Linked DNA regions of Homo sapiens: all the other regions are linked to region 2. The links are contacts of gene promoters, found by promoter capture Hi-C in blood cells and fetal thymus (Javierre and others, 2016). All regions are on one chromosome and are shown on one strand. Each heading gives the region's core, a stretch centred on a gene start or on the middle of the fragment in contact. The rest is flanking DNA. Distances are from core to core; before and after follow the strand shown. Region 1 holds the start of INPP5E (inositol polyphosphate-5-phosphatase E). Region 2 holds the start of ENTPD8 (ectonucleoside triphosphate diphosphohydrolase 8). Region 3 holds the start of PMPCA (peptidase, mitochondrial processing subunit alpha).

Region 1 (4,040 bases), core at 1,531-4,030, 1.0 Mb before region 2:
GTGAATTATTTTAACAAAAGCAGCAGTCTTGCCCTGGATGTGATCGCACCTGCTCCATCCATGACAGGAGGAGAGTATGGTGGGGGCGCCAGGCACGGGCCCTCACTCCAGGCCTGAGCCCACCTGCCTGCTGGTGCACCACAGACGCGGGGAAGTGAGGCTACCTTCGGGGACTGTGGTGAGCTGAACAGTGATCCCCAAAGCCATGTCCACTCCCAGAGCCCCAGAACCTTGGAATGGGACCTTATTCGGAAACGGGGTCTTTGCAAACGTGTTTAATTAAGGATCTCGAGATAAGACCACCCTGGATTTAGGGTAGGCAGTAAATTCAATGACTGGTGTCCTTATAAAAAGAGAGGGGAACACAGAGAGACAGGGAAGAGGCCACATAAAGACAGAGGCAGAGACTGGAGCATGCGGCCACAAGCCAAGGAACAAGTGGGGCCCCAGGAGCGGGAGGCAGCGGGAGGACCCTCCCCTGAGCCTCTGGAGAGAGGCTGCGTGGCCACACCTTGATTTTAGACTTCTGGCCTCTAGAACTGGGAGAGAGTCCAGCTCTGCTGTTGCAAGCCTCCCAGTCTGTGGTCATGAGTTACAACGGCCCCAGGACACCAACACAGAAACCACCTCACACCTCTCCCTTCTCACACCTGTCCTGCCTCCCGCCGCGGCTGACAGACAAGACTTGGGCACCATGGCAGTGGGGTGGGGGGAGGAAAAGAAGGGTGCAGGTGACTCTGCCAAGTCATAGTGGGAGCATCTCAGGACAGGCCCCCAGACTGAGACCCCAAGACAAGACCAGGCTTGGGAGAGGTCATGGGTTCAGCTGCAGTTCCTTCCAGCAACAGCTGGAGCCCACCAAAATGTTCCTCATGAGCAAGTGGCTAAACGAAAGTAGCCTCAACACATCTGGGGCCTCTTGCCGCAGAAAAAAACAAAGGGGGCAGGCCGGGCGCAGTGGCCCACGCCGGGAATCCCAGCACTTTGGGAGGCCGAGGCCAGGAGTTCGAGACCAGCCTCGCCAACACGGCGAAACCCCGCCCCTACTAAAAATACAAAATTTAGCTGGGTGTGGTGGCGGGCGCCTGTAATCCCAGATTCTCAGGAGGCTGCGGCAGGAGGATCCCTTGAACCCAGGAGGCAGAGGTTGCAGTGAGCCGGGATCGCGCCGCTGCACTCCAGCCTGGGCGACAGAGAGAGTAACAAACAAAAACAACCAAAGGGGCGGATCGTATACATTGACGACATTTCCCAAGACTAAACAAGAAAAAGCGCCAGATACGTAATTGTATGCAGGATGCCATCCTGTCTACCTTAACACAACGTCACGCCCACGAATGGTTCTGAAACGCACAGGAAAAGTTCTGGGAAGGGCGCTGCTGTGGGGTGGGGCTGGGAGATGGGGTGGCTGCGGGAGACCCGCTTCGTTCTTTCCGGTTAGGCATCTTAAACGCTGCTGATGGGAACGGTCTCACGAGGTTCCAGCAGCCTGAACACTACAACGAAGGCGGCGCGGGCGCTGCACCCGCCAGGCCCTCCCTACCTGCTGCGGACGTCCTTGCTGCGGATGGGCGCCAGGAGGCTGAAGGAGGATTTGGCCGAGCGAAGGGAACAGTCGTCGCAGGCCAGGGGGCTCCGCGGCCGGCCGGGGCCCAGGCTGCTGTGGGCCCGCACCAGGAGCGGCTGCGCGCGGAGCTTGTAGTCTGCAAGATCCGAGTCGACCTTGTTTGCTGTCCTCAGGGAGTCGGAGGCGATGTCCAGGCTCAGGGCAGGCGGTGGGCGCGGGGGCAGCAGGCTGGGCAGCCTGGGCGAGCTCCCCGCCACGGCGGCGTCTCTGTGCGGGAGGTTCGGGGAGCTGCTGGCCACCCCAGAGAGAGGGTTACCCCCCGAGGACGGGCTCCCTCTCTCACTGCTCAGGACCCCGCGGGACTTGGGGATTTCCTGCAAGGAGGTGCTCAGGCAGGGCGGGGAGCAGCTGTGGGCGGGGGCCCCGGGGCCCTCGCTCTGCACTGAGCCCCTGGAGGGACTGGTCCCATTCCGGGCTTCCAGGTCCTCCTGGCTGCCTCGAAAACGCCTCCTCCTCCAGCCCTTGTCGTCCAGGGACAGGGCTCGCTCCAGTCGAGGCCTGGCGGGGGGCCGCGGGGCGATGGGTGCTGCTCGGGCTGGCGGGTCCTCGCCGCTGGGCGTGGCCGGAGTGCTGCAGGCAAGCGCGGGGCTCTCGGAGCCCGGAGCATCGGGTGGGGACCCCGCGCGCTGGGCCGGCGGAGCGCCGGGAAGCTGTCCTTGGAGCGTCCTCCCTTCCGGCGGCTGCGGGGCCGGCTCGGAGGGCCGCAGATTCTCCGCCTTGGACGGCATGGACGGTCTCTCCCGGGGCAGGCCTCGGCGCGAGGCCGCAGGCAGCGCGAGGGGTCACGGGTGCCGGGTCCGGGGTCGCCGGCGCAGCGAGGAGCAGAAACGCCGCTGCGGCTCCCGCTTGGGCCGGGGATGGTCGCGGAGGGGCGGGGGCGGCTGCCGCATGGCCCGGGCCCCGAGTCCCGCCAGCCCCTCGGGGCTCCCAGACGCCGTTCCCAGGGCGGTCCGCAGGCAAGGCCTGGGGGAACAGGCGGCTGGGCGCCTGTCGCGGGGGAGGTTCGACCCCGACGGGGACGCCGCTCGGGGAGAGGGGTGGGAAGCGGGCACCCCTGGCTGGGCTCGCAGACTCCGAAGTCGACCCGGTACTCGCGGAGGCCCGGCCGCCCAGAAGCGGAGTCAGCCCGGCCGGGACCCAGCAACCGCCGCCGCGGGGCCGCGCCCGGTCCCCGCCCCGCGCCCCGGCCCCGCCCACAGCGGCCCCTGGCGGCCGGAGGACTGCGCCGCACCGGACCCGGACGGGTCTCCCACGCCCCTCCCAACCCGGCAGCCCCGCAGTCCGGCAGGTCCCAGCGAGGCAGGTGCAGGTCCCCGGAGAGGACCTGGGTGCGGTCCAGGACAGCGCCGAGGCCTGCGGACACCTGCACTCACTCGCTTCCAGCAAACCAAAGGGAACCACAGGTGAAGGTGCTTGAAGGAGCGCAAAATATTTTATTCAACAATTTGCAATGTAACAATTCTCATTTAGGAAAAATAGCCGCTCCCGCCTGGAGGAAGCTTCTTGAATCAAAAGTCGTGGCAGTCGACCCCAGAACAGCGGGCAGAGCCGACCGGAAGAGGTCCCAGGATTCACACGAGCTGACCGAGGGACAGAGAGGGCTGCCCCGTCACAGGGACTGGCCTTTCTCCAAGTGACAAGGACAAATGGATCCAGCGGGACACGCCTGTGGAACATTTTGGAAAACATCCTGGGTGGTCTGGGCTAAATGATCAAGTGAAACAGAAAGCCAGGAAGGATCTGTGCTAATTCCACATTCTACAATTTCTACACTTAAATTTAAAACACCAAACAGTTTGTATTCCTCCAGCAGAACCTACAGAAATTATCTACTGATTTTTATTAGTATTTAAATCTTTTCTTCAGTCTCTTTAGACTTGACAAGAATACGAAGAGTTTCAGAACAGTCAGAGAAGCCTTAAAGCTTTGCATCAGTGAGAGGAGGCCCGTCTCTGAGTTGAACAGGGTTGAGTCCACCAGGAGCTACTCAAAGTCTCAGTGTGGCAAAACTCGGGGCAGAAATACTAAGTTCCAGAGCTGCTGTCAAGAAACTGTGTTAAGATACTCTCCCCAAGTGCTACCAACCTCTGAACCAACGTCCCCCAGGGGAGAAAGTGGGTCATGTGGATTGTACCACGAAAAGTGCTCACGGAAAGTGCAGCCTTTTAGAGAAGTGCATCCAGCTTCCTTAACAGTGAGTCTAACCGTGCTCCTACACACGAAATGAAGCCCAAATCAAACATCACACGGTCAGTTTTCAACCTGGATGACCACCCTGAGCCATCATGTCAGACAGCCGGCTCTCTGGGGCTCCTTCCCAGTGACTGGGCCACACGGTGGGCAGTCCCCAGCGCTTTGGGTACACAAAATCACCCATGGTCCTCATCAGGCCACAGAAAGTAAAGTGAGGCTG
Region 2 (4,099 bases), core at 1,600-4,099:
ATCTCCGGGGCTCAGGCGGCCTCCCGTGGCCATAGAGGCATCTCCGGGGCTCAGACGGCCTCCCGTGGCCATAGAGGCATCCCCGGGGCTCAGACGGCCTCCCGTGGCCATAGAGGCATCCCCGGGGCTCAGACGGTCTCCCGTGGCCATAGAGGCATCCCCGGGGCTCAGACGCCTCCCGTGGCCAAGGACCACTCCCCAGGAGCCACGCCTGCCAGGGGTGCCATGGGCATCAGAGGGCCCTGTGGGAGGGGGGCGGGGGGCAGCAGAGGCCTCGTCTGGGGACACAGCCCCAGCAGGATCCAAGTAGCCCCCTCGGACCCCCTCGGATGGGACTCGCGGAGCTGCCCCCACCATGTGATGGGGCCACCCTGTGTCCCCACCCCTCGGTCCTGCCTCTCCCGTGCCACCCTCCCCAGGAGCAGCCACAGCTCCAGCCTGCACTGGGGGCCCAGGGCTCTGCCTCCTCTCTGCGGCCCCCACCCCAGGCACTCCTAGGGTGGGGGTTTCTCTCTGGAGCCCTGAGGGGACTGTTGCCGAGGGGCTGTGGGTGAACCCAGGGTGAGGCCAGCCATCCTAGGAAGCCGAGTGTGAGGCTTCTTAACAACATCGGTTTCTCTGGAAATCCAGCCCAAGGCTTCCCTAATCTGACTCTGCACCTTCTTAGCTGGTGCCAGATGGCGCCTGGTCGGGAGGTGGACCCAGGGATGCCATCTGAGGGGCCTGGGCTTCTCTAGCCCTGTGGCCGAGGTGTCCACCTCCTCCTCTGCCCAAACGCCCAGCAAGGGTCTCAGCTCTCAAACTACCCCAGGCCGACCCTGTGCCCCATACAGCCCCACTTCACACGGGTACCACTGCCAAAGGAGTGGTCAAAGCCAGAGGCTGCCTGCCAAGGTCCCGGCACCTGAACCCCATGTGACCGTGTCCTATCGTGTTCCCCCGGGAAACGTTGCACCCACACTGAGTGGCAGGCGCGGGTGCTGCCCTGGTCCTGACCTGGGGCTCCTGGGCACGTGGAAAGTGGGACACGCTGTGGGGTCCTCACGCAATTCTGTATGTCCGGGGGATATAAGCCCATTTTAAGGAGGGTAGATGACAGAGGCTCAGAGAGGACAGGAGGCCGGTCCAGCCCAGACAGGGCCCAGCCTGTGTCCCCAACCAGCACCCAGGCCATAGGCCACCTCATAGGGACAAACAGGTGACAGGGGCCAGGAACACAGGGACTCCACACCCAGAAGATGTAGCCACCTGAGACCCCCAGGCCTGAGCCTCCAGGTAGGCAAAGAGGTTGGGGCAACCTCTCCCACACTCAAAAGACCCCCAAGACCAGAACAGCCTCCCAGATCAGAACAGCTCCTCAGACCAGGAAAGCGCCCCCCAGACCAGAACAGCCCCCCCGAGACCAGGACAGTGCCCCCAGACCAGGAGAGCCCCCCAGACCAGGACACCCCCTCAGACAGAACAGTCCCCCAGACCAGGACAGCCCCCCAGACCAGGACAGCCCCCCCCAGACCAGGAGAGCCCCCCAGACCAGGACACCCCCTCAGACAGAACAGTCCCCCAGACCAGGACAGCCCCCCCAGACCAGGACAGCCCCCCAGACCAGGACAGCCCCCCCAGACCAGGACAGCCCCCCCAGACCAGGAGAGTCCCCCAGGCCAGGACATCCCCTCACACAGAACAGTCCCTGAGACCAGGACAGCCCCCCCAGACCAGGACACCCCCTCACACAGAACAGACTCCCAGATCAGGACAGCCCCCCAGACCAGGACAGCCCCCCAGACCAGGACAGCCCCCGCCAGACCAGGACAGCCCCCCCCAGACCAGGAGAGCCCCCCAGACCAGGACACCCCCTCACACAGAACAGATTCCCAGACCAGGACAGCCCCCAGACCAGGACAGCCCCCCCCAGACCAGGACAGCCCCCCAGACCAGGACAGCCCCCCCCCAGACCAGGAGAGCCCCCCAGGCCAGGACACCCCCTCAGACAGAACAGTCCCCCAGACCAGGACAGCCCCCCAGACCAGGACAGCCCCCCCCAGACCAGGAGAGCCCCCCAGACCAGGACACCCCCTCAGACAGAACAGTCCCCCAGACCAGGACAGCCCCCCCAGACCAGGACAGCCCCCCAGACCAGGACAGCCCCCCCAGACCAGGACAGCCCCCCAGACCAGGACAGCCCCCCCCAGACCAGGACAGCCCCCCCAGACCAGGACAGCCCCCCAGACCAGGACAGCCCCCCCAGACCAGGACACCCCCTCAGACAGAACAGTCCCCCAGACCAGGACAGCCCCCCCAGACCAGGACAGCCCCCCAGACCAGGACAGCCCCCCCAGACCAGGACAGCCCCCCAGACCAGGACAGCCCCCCCCAGACCAGGACAGCCCCCCAGACCAGGACAGCCCCCCAGACCAGGACAGCCCCCCCAGACCAGGACACCCCCTCAGACAGAACAGTCCCCCAGACCAGGACAGCCCCCCCAGACCAGGACAGCCCCCCAGACCAGGACAGCCCCCCCAGACCAGGACAGCCCCCCAGACCAGGACAGCCCCCCAGACCAGGACAGCCCCCCAGACCAGGACAGCCCCCCCAGACCAGGACACCCCCTCAGACAGAACAGTCCCCCAGACCAGGACAGCCCCCCCAGACCAGGACAGCCCCCCAGACCAGGACAGCCCCCCCAGACCAGGACAGCCCCCCAGACCAGGACAGCCCCCCAGACCAGGACAGCCCCCCAGACCAGGACAGCCCCCCCAGGACATCCCTTTGGACCCTCACCTGGGCTGGCTGCCCACTTCCCGGAGCGGCAAGGAGGAAGCTGTGCTTAGACGCTTCTGTGTCCGCGCACCTGGCGTCCAGCCTCTCCCTGCCCCTGGGTCCAGGACAGCTGGGGTGGGCGGGGCAGGGCGGTGACAGCCTCGGGCGATGCGCTGTGCACCTGGCTCCAGGGCCCGCAGGCTGAGGCCAGCGCCCAAGGTCGCCCCGCCCACTCCACCCTCGGGTCCCCCGCCCAGGGTCTCCCCGCATCTCCCACCCGCGGGTCTGTCTCGGTGCCCAGGGTCGCCCCGCCCCCGGGGGGGTGGGAGGCAGGAGAGGGAAGCTGAGGAGGAGCCTGGAGCTGCGAGGGGCAGAACTCCGGGACCCCGCCCCCCACGGCCCGCAGCCGCGCTCCTGACCCCGGCCCGGACTTTACCCCCCGTGCCGCCCGGCCCGGGCAGGTCGGAGTCAGGTGACCCCGAAGGTCCAGGCCCGGGGCGGGGGCGGAAGCGCCTGCAGCCCCGCGGCGCCCGTCGTTTTCCATTTGCAGCCACTCTGCCTTTCCCGCTCGCCGTGGGTCCCGGGGCCGCCGCCGTCGGGGTCCGGGCCTCTGAAGCGGGGCGGGGCTGGGGGAGGCGCGGAGCCAGGGCCGGGCTGGGTGGGGCTGGGGGTGTTGGGGGGCGGGGAATAGGGTGGGGGAATGCGGGGGGGCGGTGAATTCCTTTCTGTGTGAGATCCAAGAACCCTCTTGGGGTCTCAATCGGGACTCTCTTTACTGGTAGCATATTTGGTGTCATGTGTGTGCATTTTTGTGCTTTTTCTTGGTGATTTCACTGTTTATAATGGCGTCTCAGCATAGTGCAGAAATGCAAGAAGGCTGAGATGCACTTTACAGAGAAAACACACATTGGATAAGCTTCATTCGTGCAAGAGTTAGCGCTGTTGGCCATGAGTTCAATGTTAGTGATACAATACATATTAAGTAAGGTGCCCTTAAACAAAAATACACATAAAAGAAGGTTTTATTAATATATTGATCATTTAACAAAAATGTGACCAGAAGCTTGCAGGAACAGAACTTTGCATTTCCCTTAGGAGCAATAGTTTAGCATATTCTTTAATTCAGTGTTTGCAGCAACTTTATACACTAGCTGCCATGGGTCATAAGAGTCAAATGTGTTTGTTGAGGATTTTTGCAGTTGTGTTCAACAAAGTTGCATAGTTTTCTTTTTTAGTCCTGGTTTCTGTATGGGGATAATGCTGGGCTTATAAAATGAGTCTGGGAAGTTGTCCTTTTTTTTTTTTTTTTTTGAGATGGAGTCTCGCTCTGTCACCCAGGCTA
Region 3 (3,725 bases), core at 1,079-3,578, 1.0 Mb before region 2:
GCACTGTGGGAGGTCAAGGCGGGCGGATCACGAGGTCAGGAGACTGAGACCATCCTGGCTAACACGGTGAAACCTCATCTCTACTAAAAATACAAAAAATTAGCCAGGCGTGGTGGTGAGCGCCTGTAGTCCCAGCTACTCGGGAGGCTGAGGCAGGAGAATGGCGTGAACCTGGGAGGTGGAGCTTGCAGTGAGCCGAGATCGTGCCACTGTACTCCAGCCTGGGCGACAGAGCGAGACTCTGTCTCAAAAAACAACAACAACAACCAGCTCCTCAGGTGCTGCAACGCTGGGGACCCAGTGCCCCCTGACCCTCTTCCCGACTTTCCTACCTAGGTAGCCTAAATAACGCCCACTTTTCCCTTCTCCCTCTTGCCACCGCCTTCCCACCCTCCGGGGACTTAAGCAGCCACACTCGACCCTCCCAGCTGTGAGCCCCATGTAAAGCTGGCTCCTGTGGCCCCAGCCCCCCAGGTGGGGCTTCCCCGCTCCCTGATGTCACCTCGCTGCTACTCTAGGATCAAGACTGAACCCTTGAAATCCCACCCCCACCTGCTCTTTTGGGCTCCAGCTACACCACATAGCCAGTCACATTGACAGTCCCACCAGACACGTGCCTGGCACTGTGTTGGATGGAGACAAGAAGAAAAGGTTGCTGAACTACTCTACCTCCAAAATGTGTCCCGTGGGCTCCTGACGGGCTCTGCTTAGAACATTTCCCCTTTCCATAGCCAAAATCTGCAAAGAAACAATGTCACCCACCATGCTGGCAGGAAGTCTTTATGACCTCACATTTGGTTTTTTTCTTTTGCACATGGAGTCTCCACTGCAGTGGTTCTCACAGTCTAGAGAACTTTTTTTTTTTTTTTGAGACGGAGTCTTGCTCTGTCGCCCAAGCTGGAGTGCAGTGGTGCGATCTCGGCTCCCTGCAAGCTCCGCCTCCTGGGTTCACGCCATTCTCCTGCCTCATCCTCCCGAGTAGCTGGGACTACAGGCACCTGCCACCACGCCCGGCTAATTTTTTTGTATTTTTTGTAGAGACGGGTTTTCACCCTGTTAGCCAGGATGGTCTCAATCTCCTGACCTCATGATCCGCCTGCCTCGGCCTCCCAAAGTGCTGGGATTACAGGCGTAAGCCACTGCGCCCGGTCAGCCGAGAAAACTTTAAAAAAAACACAAGCTCCCAGACTTGTGACCCTGGAGATGGCCTGACTTGCAGACTGGCCCTGGTGTCCGTGGTCTGAAAGCGGCTCCTCAGCAGATTTTGAAGCCCAGCCGGGGCAAGCGCGTCCTCTTGTCTTGTGACAACCCCCGAATGTCCTCAGATCCTGGCATAACCACACAAACACTCCTGCACACCCCGGGCACCCAGCAGCACTTCTGCTTGGGTAGAACGAGGACGAACCAGATCTGGCCACTGCCCGGCTGTGGAGGCAGATGGAATGCTCCAGCTCGGTTTCCAATCACTGCCCACTAGGTGAAGGCACCCCGACTCCAGCCCCACGAGGAAAGCGGGCGGGCTCCTGTGCTCCCCGGGCACTAACCATCCTGTACTGGAACTGTCTGTCTTGGGGGAGGTCTCCCCGCAACCAGACTGTGAGCTCCTAGCAGGGGACTCCGCCTTTGAATTCCGAGTGCCTGGCACGCAGTGAGCGCTCTGCACATTGATGGGTCAATGGACGAGCTCGTGCTGCAGCGGAGGTGCCACACGTGGCGCGGGAACTGGAAGCGTCCCCGGGGCCGGCGCCCTCGTCTCTCACCTGTGTCTCCCACGGAAGCCAGCACCGGGCTGGGCACATAGCACATAAAGGCCGGCCGAATGCCGAAGAAGGGGGAGTCCAGGTCCCTGCCATGGGGGCGCTCACAATTTAGCTGGGGGAGACAAGACCGGCGCTCATAGAACGCTGGAGCTGGAAGCAACGACAACAGCGACTTTACTGCGTGCCGGGGCGGCCGCCGCCCACCTGGACCGCTGGACTCGGCCCCTGCCCCGCTCACCGTCGGGAATGGCGAGGCTCCGGGCTCGGGACAGCGGGGTGGCGCCCGGGCGGCGCTGGTAGCCCGACATCGCCGCCGGCCCGGCGGGGCACGACCTGCCTAGCCCGGCAGCGGCGGCTCCATGGCCCCGGCTCCGCCCGTGCCGCGGCCCGCGTCGCCCGCCCCCGTCGCCCGCCCCCGTCGCCCGCCGCTCGGCCGCCCCCGCGCCTCCGAGCCTCTCGCCGCTGCTTCCGCTCCGAGCACCGAAAGCGCGTGCCTGAACGCCTTGGGCCGTCGGCGAGGGGGAGGGGAAGCCGTGGGCGGAAGCGGAAGTGACGACTGAAGCGGGGCGGAGACGCAAGATGGCGGCTGTGGTGCTGGCGGCGACGCGGTTGCTGCGGGGCTCGGGTTCTTGGGGCTGTTCGCGGCTGAGGTGAGCCAAAGGCGAACCAGGCTTCGGCCTGGGGCGGGGGCGGCTCGAGTCTTTCTGGACGCTCCGTCTTCGGTTTCTACAGGTGACATGGCGCCCGTGGGACGGGCTCGCACTTCGGGACACTGGTGTCCCCGAGGCGACGGGGGCCCTGCCTTGCTTTGCGCCTCGAGCCCGGGGACGCAGTCCCATCTGTCTCTCCTCTCCCCGGCTGCTGGGTCCTCTCCCCCCCTCACTTCCCGGGTCGACGGGCCTTCTCCGAGGCCATGCCTCATATTTGCCCCCGCGCTTCACCTACCGCGTGCTCCTTCAGGAGGCTGAGCCGGTGGGGGCCCAGCTCTGTTAGACCCGCAGGGTTCTGACACCAGGGTCCAGGCTCTCGGTTGCTGCGGTCTGTCCGTTGATCTCTGACGTTTAAGAACCCTTTCCGTACCCACCGCTCCTCCCACCCAAGTGACCGGGCCTGCCTTTCCCCACGCTGGAACTTTGTTCCGACAGCACAGGCGTCGCCCCTCCCCACACAACGAGCGCCGTTTCAGGGGTGCGGAGGTGCTGCCTCCAGGAGATGGATACAGGCTGGAGCGTAAACAAAATATCGGCAGTCGCGTAAATGCTTTGGAGTAAACAAGCAGCCTTTCATGATAGAAAATAGCAGGAAAGACTAGACTGGTGAGGGATAGTCCTCCATCAGGGTGACATTTAAGGGAAGAGCTGAAGAATGAAAGAAGGGGTAGGCATGGGCAAAGGGCAAGCCCTGGAACGGTGAAGAAGCTTTGGGGTTGATGAGTCAAATGTGTTCCAGGAATTGACAAGAATCAGTGTGACCAGGACCTATGGGAGTGTGGGGGTTCAAGAGATGAGTTTGGAGAGGGAGACAGAGGCCAAGTCACACCCCGCCTTCGGACCAGGTTAATAAGGGATATGGCTTTTATCCAAGACTTCGGTGGTGCTGTTGGAGGGCAGAGCTGTTAAGTGCTTTATGTGTACAAACTGCACTTAGAGTGAGTTACTGTTAATAAGCCCTGTTTTTACAGAGATAGCAACTAAGACCCAAAGGACGGAACCAGCTTGCTCCAGGTCCCGTGGCTGAGCCTTTGTTGTCAGCCTCTGCTTTGTCTTCCAAAGTCTGTAGAAATAAGTCCTGTAGAAAGGCAGATGCTCACTTTTAACCCAGACAAAACATAACTAACCGCACCTAACAGGTCATCACAGGTTTGTTGTCTCAAGCCTGTTGTAACTGGGCCGCTTTCTCTGTTTTAGGTTTGGACCTCCTGCGTACAGACGGTTTAGTAGTGGTGGTGCCTATCCCAACATCCCC

The links. The method cuts DNA at HindIII sites, captures the fragments that hold promoters and counts their contacts. A CHiCAGO score of 5 or more calls a contact.
Region 1: the fragment with the promoter of INPP5E here is called in contact with the fragment with the promoter of ENTPD8 in region 2 in 1 of 17 cell types (total CD4 T cells); the score reaches 7.4 in total CD4 T cells.
Region 3: the fragment with the promoter of PMPCA here is called in contact with the fragment with the promoter of ENTPD8 in region 2 in 1 of 17 cell types (erythroblasts); the score reaches 5.6 in erythroblasts.

The regions. Positions count from the first base shown.
Region 1 is chr9:136,437,065-136,441,104 of GRCh38, forward strand. It overlaps INPP5E (inositol polyphosphate-5-phosphatase E), which reads right to left and starts at 2,781. Exons shown (of 10, transcript NM_019892.6): 1 at 1,544-2,781. The coding sequence starts at 2,355. SEC16A (SEC16 homolog A, endoplasmic reticulum export factor) reads right to left here. Exons shown (of 32, transcript NM_014866.2): 32 at 3,041-4,040. RefSeq lists enhancers at 985-1,618, 1,560-1,669, 1,619-2,253, 2,254-2,887 and silencers at 1,960-2,449, 2,510-2,689, 2,740-2,939. The HindIII fragment of the contact is 4,062 bases long and covers 1-3,124 here.
Region 2 is chr9:137,438,508-137,442,606 of GRCh38, forward strand. It overlaps ENTPD8 (ectonucleoside triphosphate diphosphohydrolase 8), which reads right to left and starts at 2,850. Exons shown (of 10, transcript NM_001033113.2): 1 at 2,779-2,850. RefSeq lists a silencer at 2,710-3,004. The HindIII fragment of the contact is 13,084 bases long and covers 1-3,671 here.
Region 3 is chr9:136,408,330-136,412,054 of GRCh38, forward strand. PMPCA (peptidase, mitochondrial processing subunit alpha) reads left to right here and starts at 2,329. Exons shown (of 13, transcript NM_015160.3): 1 at 2,329-2,410; 2 at 3,668-3,725. The coding sequence starts at 2,340. ENTR1 (endosome associated trafficking regulator 1) reads right to left here and starts at 2,285. Exons shown (of 10, transcript NM_001039707.2): 1 at 1,999-2,285; 2 at 1,761-1,910; 3 at 670-738. The coding sequence starts at 2,068. RefSeq lists enhancers at 1,388-1,547, 2,398-2,487, 2,518-2,567 and silencers at 1,908-1,957, 2,098-2,187. The HindIII fragment of the contact is 5,612 bases long and covers 1-3,176 here.